Regions from separate parts of the Homo sapiens genome. Here region 2 is linked to region 1. The links are contacts of gene promoters, found by promoter capture Hi-C in human tissues and cell types (Jung and others, 2019). All regions are on one chromosome and are shown on one strand. The core of a region is centred on a gene start or on the middle of the fragment in contact, and the rest is flanking DNA. Distances in the headings are between cores, read along the strand shown. Region 1 holds the start of AIPL1 (AIP like 1 HSP90 co-chaperone). Region 2 has its middle 24 kb from the start of TEKT1.

The links. Contacts are between HindIII fragments. The study calls those that stand out against the background at their distance.
Region 2: a contact is called between a fragment that was not itself captured here and the fragment with the promoter of AIPL1 in region 1, in 1 of the 25 tissues and cell types used here (stomach).

Annotation. Positions count from the first base shown.
Region 1 is chr17:6,433,871-6,440,004 of GRCh38, forward strand. AIPL1 (AIP like 1 HSP90 co-chaperone) reads right to left here and starts at 1,251. Exons shown (of 6, transcript NM_014336.5): 1 at 1,139-1,251; 2 at 49-228. The coding sequence starts at 1,234. It overlaps LOC107985017 (a long non-coding RNA gene), which reads right to left. Exons shown (of 3, transcript XR_001752776.2): 3 at 3,428-3,467. The HindIII fragment of the contact is 7,871 bases long and covers 1-4,095 here.
Region 2 is chr17:6,852,865-6,858,462 of GRCh38, forward strand. It overlaps the pseudogene ALOX12P2. Among named protein-coding and RNA genes, the nearest start is that of TEKT1, 24 kb to the left of the region's middle. RefSeq lists an enhancer at 914-2,113. The HindIII fragment of the contact is 5,362 bases long and covers 97-5,458 here.

The DNA of each region.
Region 1 (6,134 bases), core at 1-2,500:
GCCCAGAAAAGACTAGTCCCAGGAGACAGGCGCGCAGGGCCTACTTACGATGGTGTCGCACCAGAACTCGGCCACCTCGTGCACCCGCATGGAGGTAAGCAGGATCTCCCAGACCTCGAGCTTGAACATGTTTCCGATGATGATGTGCATGGGCTGGCCCACCTGCCGACTGTCGTCAATGACTGTCCGCTCCTCATCACATTTCATGGTGCGGAAATGAAAGATCACCTAGTCACCGAGACGGTGCACTCTGCTCTAGACACACTGTTCAAGGCCCGGCAGAAGCCACCCCCTTGCCACCGACACCCAGGGCTGTCCCCAGGGTCAGCTCACTCAGTTCACCCCATCAGATGCCTCAGACCCCTGGAGCACCTCCACCCTGCCTGCACCCCCCAGGGAGGAGGGACCCACCCCTCCCTACAGACCCCATTCCACTCCCCACAGCCCTGTGCGTCCAGAAATCCTTCCTCAAGTAAGCCCGAGTTCTTTTTTTTTTTTTTTTTTCTGAGACAGAGTCTCACTCTGTTGCCCAGGTTGGAGTGCAGTGGTATGATCTCGGCTCACTGCAACCTCCACCTCCTGGGCTCAAGTGATTCTCCTGCCTCAGTCTCCTGAGTATCTGAACTGGGATTACAGGCGCCCAGCACATCTGGCTAATTTTTGTATTTTCAGTAGAGATGGGGTTTCACATGTTGGTCAGGCTGGTCTCGAACTCTTGACCTCATGATCTGCCCATCTTGGCCTCCCAAAGTGCTGGGATTACAGGCGGGAGCCGCCTCGCCTGGCCAAAGCCCGAATTCTGTAGCCACAGACGCACCCTTCAGTCCAGGGAAGCCTAACAGACATTTGGGGACAAATACCAAGACTCCTCGGACTCCCTTTCTTCTCACTCAACATTTAGGGCCCCAGAAAATTCCCAAAAGCCCTTCCCCTCAGCCCATGCTAAAGTTGAATCTGCAAAGTACCAAAAATGCCCCCTGAATGGGTAAACGCTGGGAGCTCCCCGGAGGCCCAGCGCTGGGGCTGCCTGGCTGTTTTTTTGGCACAGCTGAAAGCTGTTTACAGTGCCTTGGGGCACACCTGGAATGTTGAAAGCTGCTGTGGGGGACCCTGTCTGCTCCGGAGGGGCCCCACTCACTCGGGATCCGGTGATGAAGTTTGGGAGCTCGCCCGTGCCCCCGTGCAGAATGGTTTTCTTGACCCCTTCCACGTTCAGGAGCAGAGCGGCATCCATGGCTGCAGGAGAAAGGGAGGTGTCCAGCACAGGCGGAGATAATCTCACCTCCGGGGAAGACACTTAGGCGGCTGAGACTCTGGGATTTACCCAGCCAGGAGGAGTGGGGGGAAGGGCAGACGGTGGGGGCGGTGACCTAGGCGCCCCGGCTTCTCATCAGAGCCACTCGGGCCGGGCCTGTGGTCCACAGGCAGCCTCGCCTCCTATCCCATCCACCTTTGCTTCCAGTGATTCTGGGCCCCTGCCCAGGGTTGTGCTAGATTTGGCTTTTTGTTCCACCCCAAGAAGGAAAAAGGTCCGCTGAGCTTTCTTAAAGAAGACAGGGGACCAGGCGCGGTGACTCACGCCTGTAATCCCAGCACTTTGGGAGGCCGAGGCGGGCAGATCACAAGGTCAAGAGATCGAGACCATCCTGGCTAATATGGTGAAACCCCATCTCTACTAAAAATACAAAAATTAGCCGGGGGTGGTGGCGGGCGCCTGTAGTTCCAGCTACTCGGGAGGCTGAAGCAGGAGAATCGCTTGAACCCGGGAGGCGGAGGTTGCAGTGAGCCAAGATAGCGCCACTGCACTCCAGCCTGGCGATGTGGAGAGAGGCCTGGAGGCCACTGAAGGGGAAAAGGAGGGGAGGCATGGGCTGGGCCCAGACTCTAAGTCCCCGAGGACCCCAGGCCAGCCGGGGTGACAGCTGCCCTTTGCCATCCAGCCACCTTTCTGCTTTCCCTGTTCCCCCTCCCCTCCCCAGAATCTGCCTTCAGGAGGCCCTGCGATGGTGGCCCAAGGCAAGAGGGGACAGGTTTCTGGCTTGGGAGAGAAGGAAGACGGAGAACGAAAGGCGGGGTGGGTTTGGGTAAAGTTGAGGCGCCCTCCGCAGCCCCGCTCCTGCCTCCCCTGCAAGGTCTGGCTGGGGGAAGGGTGGGTATCCCCTCCCCTCCCCTCCCCTCCCCTCCCCTTTGGAGGCCCTTAGCCCTGTGCCCTGGGAACCAGGCAGAGTTTATTGAGGGCATCAGGGACGCCCAGAAGGGCTGGGAAACATAAATGCGAAGACCTGGTGTTTGGCACCACCGTGTGGCCAGTTCAAGCTCCTACACCTCCGCACCCTGAGGGCACTGGACTCAGCTCCACGAAACCATTCTCTTCCTGACACCAGGCTCACCGGTTGCAGAGGGAAGGGGTGCAGGACTCTGCTACAGGGAGAGATAAAAACACGGGACTAAGGAGGCTGAAGTAGGTGGATCACCTGAGGTCAGGAGTTTTGTATTTTTAGTAGTCTGTACTAAAAATACAAAAATTACCCAGGCATGGTGGTGCGCACCTGTAATCCCAGCTACTCAGGAGGCTGAGGCAGGAGCCTCGCTTGAACCCGGGAGGCGGAGGTTGCAGTGAGCTGAGATCGTGCCACTGCACTCCAGCCTGAGCAACACAGCGAGACTCTGTCTCAAAAAAACAAAACAAAACAAAAAATGCTAGACTAGGCTGGGTGCAGTGGCTCATGGCTGTAATCCTAGGACTTTGGGAGCCAAGGCAGGTGGATCACCTCAGATCAGGAGTTAGAGACCAGCCTGGCCAACATGATGAATCCCCATCTCTACTAAAATTACAAAACTTAGTCGGATGTGGTGGTGGGCACCTGTAATCCCAGCTACTCAGGAGGTTGAGGCAGGAGAATCGCTTGAATCCAGGAGATGAAGGTTGCTGTGCACCAAGATCATGCTGCTGCACTCCAGCCTGGGGCACAGAGTGAGACTGTGTCAGAAGAAGAAGAAGAAGGAGAAGGAAGAGGAGGAGGAGGAGGAGGAGGGAAGAGGGAAGAGGGAAGAGGGAAGAAGAAGGAAGAAGAAGAAGAAGACTGGACTGAGCCAGATACAGCTAAGTTCAAAGGGCTGATCCTTTCCTATTTACTGACCTTGTTGCCTTGGATGTCTCTCGTTTTCTCTAACTGCATTTTCCCAACTGAAATGAGAAAATTGACCTCTCCTGCTCCTTCTCAGGGGAAGTTGGGAGGGCTGCAGCAGTGAATGGCACCCTGAAATCCGGCACTCATGAAAGTCTTGCTTCCCGTGAGGAGTCATTGGCATAGAGGAGACCAAACCTGGGCCAACTGGTCAGGCCCAGGGAATCCTGGCCAGATCCCCAAGGGTCCAGTCTCCATCCCTGGAAGGCAGAAGGCTGCTGAAAACCTTCCCCTTCTCTCTTCCATCCTTTCTCCAGCCACACGGCAACCTAGAGAGGTCTGCATGCATAGGTAAAATGGATACTTAGTAAAACTAATACAGGAATTATTAAGAAATAATTTTTAGGCAGATAGTAAGGGTAAAGGTTCTTGGTGGAAATTTTCCTGCAATAAAAAACAAGCCCCCAAACCATCTCTTTTCTAACAGAAAAGGCTGCTTAAAGGGCCAGGCTGGCAAACCTTGACATGCAAATGCTGGCCATTAGAAACTGGGTTCACTCATATGGAGATTCCTGCTGTCTTTTCCCTGTCACCAGGTGTACCGAGTGTCGTGGCCACCTCCAGATAACACCTTGTGTTCAGAACATCATAGCGACCCACATTTGCATATTAAAGGACTAAGGTGGGAAGGCCAGGTGTTTTGCGGGGTTTGTAAATGACACACCTGGTCAAACCAATCCCCTGGGCCCTATGGAAATCAGACACCACCTCCTCAGCCTCCTCATATAAGCAGCTACTTCCCACCACCCTCACCCTAAACAGGGGGTTTTCTCTTTGTTCAAATCCCCCCCCTCTGTCTCTGTATGGGGGGGCTATTCTCTTCTTCCTTCCTTCTTTCTTGCCTATTAAACTTTTCACTCCTTAAAACTACTCCACGTATGTTCGTGTTGTTAATCCTATTGGAGCAAGACCAAGAACCCTGGAGTTCCTCCAGTCATCAGAGCCGTATCAAAACTACAAAGGAAAATAAAAGTATTTATCATAAAAGTCTAAGGAGACAGGAAGAACACACTTGTCACTTGCGGGTGGCAAGTGTCTGCTTCTGGGATGCTGGCAGTGCTCACCCTTGACCTAGGTGATGGTTACATGGGTGTTGGCTTTATAAGTACAGTAAGTCCTCACTTAATGTCCTTTTAGGTTCTTGGAAACTGCAGTCTGAAATGAAAGGACATACATCAGGTCCTCAAATAACATCGTTTCAATCAATGTCATCATTTCATTATAATGTTGATGAGAAAAAAAGGTGGTTTCCTTATATGTCATTTCATTTAAAGTCAGTCTTCTTTTTTTTTTTTTTTTTCTGAGATGGAACTTTGCTCTTGTCACCCAGGCTGGAGTGCAATGGCGCGATCTTGACTCACTGCAACCTCCACCTCCTGGGTTCAAGTGATTCTCCTGCCTCAGCCTCCCAAGTAGCTGGGATTACAGGTGCCTGCCACTTCACCCAGCTATTTTTTTTTTTTTTTTTTTTTTTTTTTTTAGTGGATACGGAGTTTCATCACATTGGCCACTGGCCAGGCTGGTCTCAAACTCCTGACCTCAGGTGATCCACCCACCTTGGCCTCCCAAAGTGCTGGGATTACAGGCGTGAGCCACCACGCCCGGCCTAAAGTCAGTTTTCAAACACCTATTGACAGCATTAAGTAAGGACTCACTGTATTCATGACACTAGATTTTATGTCTTAGGCAGTTTTCTATCGGTGATATAATTCACAGTGAAAAGGATCCAATCATGTCTCTTCTCACACTTCTTAAAACTCTCCCACTGTTTCTGTTGTTTCCCTTTGTAGAGGGTCGAAGGGCACACACACATTGCAGAGATGTTTAAACAGTAGAACTGATAGATGTAGCCTGTAGCTGATTGGGGGATGTGGGGGCGAGAAGAAAAGGGGATGTTGAAGCCGATGCCAGGGGGGTTGGTTTCCCTGCTGAGAAGAATGAGGATTCACTCCTGGTCTGTGCCTGGAGTTGTGCCACAGGCTACAGACTGATGCCCCAGAAACCCTTTGCCCCCTGTCTTAGTTCATTTTCTGTGATTATAACTGAACACCACAGAATGCATAATTTATTTTTTTAAAAAAGACATTTATTTAGCTCATAGTTCTGGATGCTGGGAAATCCAAGAGCATGGTGCTGGCATCTGGTGAGGGCCTTCTTGCTGCATCATAACGTGGTGGAAGGCATCACATGGTGAGAGGACAAGAGCACGCACATCAGCTCAGGTCTCCATTCCTCTTCTTGTAAAGCCTCCAATCCTATCACAGGGTCCTACCCTGATAATATTATCTAATCCTAATGACCCTCCAAAGGTCCCACCCATAAATATCATCAACATACGAATTTGAGGATTCGGTTTCCAACAGATGAAATTTGGGGGACACATTAAAACCATAGCTGCTCCCAAACCAGTCTCCTCATGGACTTTATTAAAATGCCAATCTAATAACCTACTGCCCTCTTCAAATTCAGCAAAGAGTTGCCACCACCTTCAGGACAAATTTTAAGCTCCTTCTCTGGCCTACAGACCCTGTCTCTTGCCACCCCATCCCCTACCCTCAGCCCCTCATCTCAGCCCCACCCTTTTTGTCTAGGCTTTCCCCAGTCCTAACGCTTGGCAATGCTCCAGACTCCCAACCACTGGCCCACTAGCTCCTCACTTCAAACACCACACATTCAGGGAAGACTACCCTGACCTCCAGCTCCTGTCAATCTCCCCATGCCCCTTATACCCTGTCACTTCTCCCTAGCACTGCACATTCATGCTATTTTGCCCCATTGTAATTGTTTACAATGATGTGTTTAATGTCTATGTCTTCCATCAGATTGACAGTTTCAGGAGGTCAAGGAAACTAGTGGAATGTTTGCTCTTGGACAAAGAGCCCCTGGAGAGCAGGGCTGGAGCTCCTCGTTTGTCCCCCTCCCCAACGGAGGCAAGGGTGATGCTGG
Region 2 (5,598 bases), core at 1,528-4,027, 420 kb after region 1:
TAGGAAACGGGTAACTCCAAGGCTTGGATCTTTGGGGGGTTCTCTGAGAGCTCTTTGTCTTGGTACTTACTGGTATTCCCCCTCAACGCATTTTAGGGTATAGCTTCTAATAAGTAAAGCTGGAATCCATTTCTCCATCTGTGTTAGTCTGTTTTGCATTACTATTAATATAAAGGAATACCTGAGGCTGGGTAATTTATAAAGAAAAGAGGGGCCTCCCACTTTGGGAGGCTGAGGCGGGCGGATCATGAGGTCAAGAGACTGAGACCATCCTGGCCAACATGGTGAAACTCGTCTCTACTAAAAATAAAAAAATTAGCTGGGCGTGGTGGCACGTGCCTGTAGTCCCAGCTACTCCGGAGGCCGAGGCAGGAGAATCACTTGGACCTGGGAGGCGGAGGTTGCAGTGAGCCCAGATCGCATCACTGCACTGCAGCCTGGCTACCGAGCGAGACTCCATCTCAAAAAAAAAAAGAAAAAAAGAAGAGAGGTTTGTTTGGCTCATGATTCTGCAGACTGTACAAGAAGCATGTCACTAGTATCTATGTCTGATAGGGGACTCAGGAAGGTTCTACTCATGTTGAAGGGTGAAGGGGAAGCAGGCATGTCACACGGTGAGAAAGTGAGCTAGAGAGATGCCAGGCTCTTTTAAACAACCAGCCCAGCTCTCACGTGACGTAATAGAACAAGAACTCACTAATTACCAACGGGAAGGCACCAAACCATTGAGGAGGGATTTGTCCTCATTACCCAAACACTTCCCACCGGGCCTCACCTTGAACGCTGGAGATCAAATTTTAACATGGTATTTGGTGGGGACAAACCCTATCAGCAGCTGCTTTTAATATTTAAAAAAATATTTTGAGAGAGGGCCCACAGACCCTCTGAAAGAAGCAGACTGCTCCTGCAGGACCCGGGGGACACCCCAAATACTGTGAGTGCCCCAACTGCGGAAGTGGGAAAGGGAGACCCTCCTTTCCGGAACACACACCCCCTACTGGAGAAGCTGAAGGTCTGCTTCCGGGAGATGCTCCCGACTTCACCTGGAGCTGAGTCAAGTTAGAGAACCGGACCAAGCGAAATACAGGGGCAGAGGAGGCAGCAGGGAGGCCCTGGGAGCTCTTTGAATCCCCAGGTAGCCTATTCCTGCCTGGCACCACTGGGATTCATCAGGAGGGAGGCCAGAGGAGCAGGAGGTAAAACCCTACCGGGAGAAGGACTTCCCTAGCTGAATTTTGTAACAATTTGAGTGGGGCGAGAAGCCTCCTGGCCGGAACTTGGGGGAGGATGCGGATCTGGCTTGCAGACTTCACAGGTGGGGGAAGAACTAAAGCCCTTTTCTTTCACAGGTGGGAGGCGGAAAGCCTCGGGCAAGTTTTCAAGCCCGTCCTCTGTCTGGAAACAGACTCAGAGGTGTTGCAGGGGACACGGTGGGAGTGAGACCAGCCCTTCGGTGTGCGTGGGATCTGGGGGAGGCCTGTGACTGCCGGCTTTCCCCTGCTTCTCTGACAACCTGCATGACTCAGCAGAGGCAGCCATAATCCTGGAGAGCCCCGGTTTAAGATCTCCAGGTGAAGTAGATTTTTATTGTAAGTAACTCCTGTACTTTTTAAGTTGTGAGACATGCATTCAAGGTTGAATTCTGAAATCATGTCTGAATTAACTTCACTGGAGTCTTCTGTTGCCCTTATAGAGTAGGGAATTCTCATAGTTCTGCTAGTAATTGTTTTTTGAGGGGGCAGGTGTGGTCTAACAAGGAAAGGCTAGAGAGCAATTAGGACCAAGGGAAAGACCTTGGGCCATGGAAGGTTGAGTTCTCTGAAAGTTTTAAAAATATAAATATGTATTTTTACTCTAGAGATGCGGTCTCACTAAGTTGTCCAGGCTGGTCTCAAGTAATCCTCCTGCCTTAGCCTCCCAAAGTTCTGGGATTACAGGAATGAGCCACCACACCTGGCCTCACCTCAGAACGTTTTGAAAATTTTAGTTTTGTCTGTTTGCTTGTTCAATCATTCTGCATGACTGGATATGGTGAGGATCATGTAATTTGGGGGACAGAGGAAGAACTCTTGGATTTTTTTGGATGACTTTACTGGTGCGATGAGTTCCCTGGTCACTTGACAGGGCAAGTAGAATTCCTCAGGAGGGGAAAATTTGTTCTAAGAGAACAAACAGTTGCAGCTGTGGGCTTCTTACGTGGAAAAGCTTCTAGTCAATAAGTGAACATAAAAACAATGGCCAGGGCATATTAATAACACTGACTTAGGAAGTTGAATAAAATATCTTTGCCAATAGAGAAAGAGTCCTGCTAGAGGTGGCTCTCTTCCTCGTTCTACCTTTATAACTTTTCCAGGATTCTGTTGTTGGCAGATATTCCAAGTAAGGAGTGAAGTTTCCCCACAAATGATGATGAAGGCATTGAGTCAGTATTTTCCCATGATGAAAAATTTTGTGAAGACTGAACTTCAGGTCAGGGACGAAGGAGAGCCCAAGTAGCCTTCTCAGTGTCTTCAAAGCCTATCTTTGGACTTTTTGGTGGGTAAAACATCCACCTTGTTTTCAATTAGCCTTTTCATCTTCAGGGGCCTTTAACTGAGATATTTTAATGTCCTCAAATAGAGGATAAATTGGCAAACTGAGTAGGTTTAATATCTGGTCTGATTACAGTGGGACTGGGACAGATTTATAAACTGCTACTTAGCATACTTATCAGCTGAGCTTCCCCTTGCCTTAGGGGTCTATTGCCCATATAAGCTTCTATCTTGAGTATGGCCAGCTCTTGTAATAATAAGGCCTCTAGGAGGTTACCCACATTTCCCATTTTAAACTAGTAGTCACAAATTCCCTGGCTTTCCACAACAGGTCAAAGTCATGTAATACCCTAAAAACATATCTGTTATCTGTGTTGATGTTAACTCTTTGATTCTTAGCTAAAGTGTAGGTTCTTGTGAGAGCCACAAATTATTCTATCTGATATAATTTGCACTGGGTAAAGCCTCATATGTTATGGGACTGTGGATATATGCAATGGCATATTCAGCCTGGAAACCTCTTTCTGAAGTCAGAGGTATGAACTATCAACAAAGAAAATGAGATCTGGATCTATAAGAGGTACTTCAGAAAGATCAGGACGGGGAAAGGTTAGAGCTTAGGTGGCTGAAATACAGTCATGGTGGTTGTACTTCAGTTGGGAGAGAAATGGTAACAAGGTTAAGATTTTGGTAATGGTGAATAGTAATGTGAGAAGGAGCAAACAAAAGGATCTCATAAGAGGTAAGGTTAGAGGTTGAAAAACGTTGGGGGTTCGCAGTCAGGACAAAGATGTGAACCACTTGGGCACAGAAGTGTGCGAAGTATGACCTAGCACAAAATCAACTGTGGCTTGAATCAAATTTGCTGTTGCCATGACAACTCAGAAGCAAGGAAGGAAGGCTTGAGCTATAGGGCCTAGCAAGAAGGTAAAATATCCAATGGGCCTCAGGCTCCTTTTGTATTTCTGAGACAGGACATCTAAAGTATGTTCTCTCTCATGAATGAATAGGCAGAAGGGCAAGGAGTAGTTGGGGAGTCCCAAGCTGGGGGAAGAGGAAAGGGAGGTTTTTAAAAGGATCCAATACTGTTATAGAGGTTAATTCTCGTTCTAGGGGTTCAGACAAGGAATCCACATTCTACAATAGCCAACCAGTCTGAGAAAGTCCAGGAGTTGTCTCATTGTTTTAGATAAAGTGTAATTAAGGATGCTTTTCATACATCTGGAGACAAAGTTTTTCCCTTACAGGAGATGTCATGTTTTAGAGAGTGAAACTGAAAATAGGAAAACTAAGGATAGTGAAATTATATTTTGTCTCTTGAAAACAATGTCCCTTTTAAGTCAGATCATCCAAAAGGTATCGAGTATCTGCCAATAAATTATCAAATGTACTGGAGCAAAGAAGGTGGACATCTACGTATTGCATGACGATGCAATTACAAAGGAAAACCAAATCCTTTAAATTTGCATTTTTAAAAATATTAAACATTTAGGTTCAGGGGTACATATGCAGGTTTGTTACGTAGGTAAATTTTGTGTCATAGAGGTTTGGTGTACAGATTATTTTGTCACCCAGGTGATAAGCAGGTTTCTTGATAGGTAGTTTGTTTTGATCCCCACTCTCCTCCCACCCTCCACCCTCAAGTACGCCTCAGTGTCTGTTGTTCCCTTCCTTGTGTCCAGTTATAAGTTAAAACACGTAGTCTTTAGTTTTCTGTTCCTGCATTAGTTCGCTTAGGATAATGGCCTCCAGCCCCATCCATGTTGCTGCAAAGGACATGACCTTTTTTTTAATGGCTATGTAGTATTCCATGATGTATACGTACCACATTTTCTTTATCCAGTCTACCATTGATGGACATTTAGGTTGATTCCATGTCTTTACTGTTACGAATAGTGCTAGGTGAACATATGTGTCCACGTGTCTTTGGGGCAAAACAATTTATGTTCCTTTGGGTATATACCCAATAATGGGATTTCTGGGCTAAATGGTAGTCCTGTTTTAAGTACTTTGAGAAAATGCCAAACTGTTTTCCCTAGTGGCTGAACTAATTTACGCTCCCACCAGCAGTATATAAGCATTTCCTTTTCTGTGCAACTTCTCCAGCGGCTGTTATTTTTTGCGGTTTTATTAATAGCCGTTCTGACTGGTATGAGATGGTACCTCAGTGTGGTTTTGATTTGCATTTGTCTGATGATTAGTGATGTTGAACTTTTTTTCATACGCCTTTTGGCCCTATGTATGTCTTCTTTTGAAAAGTGTCTGCTCATGTCCTTTGTCCACTTTTTAATGGAGTTGTTTTTTGCGTGTTAATTTGTTTAAGTTCTTTATAGAGTCTGGATATTAGACTTTTGCCAGATGCATAGTTTGCTAGGCCGTATGTTTACTGGGTTAATAGTTTGTGGGGTTTTTTTCTGTATAGAAGCGCTTTAGTTTAATTAGGTCAGTTTGTTAATTTTTGTTTTTGTTGCAATTGCTTTTGGTTTCTTCATCATGAAATCTCTGCCAGGTCGTATGTCCAGAATGGTATTTTTTAGGTTATTTTCCAGGATTTTTATGGTTTTAGGTTTTACATTTAAGTATTTAATCCATCTTGAGTTGATTTTTGTATATGATGAAAGGAAGGAGTCCAGTTTCAGTCTTCTGCATATGGCTAGCCAGTTATCTCAGCACCATTTATTGAATATGGAATCCTTTCCTCACTGCTTTTGTTGACTTTGTCAAAGGTCAGATGGTGTTGGTGTGTGACTTTATTTCTTGGCTCTCTATTCTGTTCCATTGGTCTGTGTGTCTGTTTTTGTACCAGAATCATGTTGTTTTGGTTACTGTAGACTCATAATATAGTTTGAAATTAAGTAATGTGATGTCTCCAGCTTTGTACTTTTCGATTAGGGTTACTTTGGCTATTCGGGCTATTTTTTTGTTTCATATGAATTTTAGAATAGTTTTTTGTAATTATGTGAAAAATTTCATTGGTAGTTAGATAGGAATAGCATTAAATCTGTAAATTGCTTTGGGGAATATGGTCATTTTAGCAATATTGATTTTTCCTATCCGTGAGCATGGA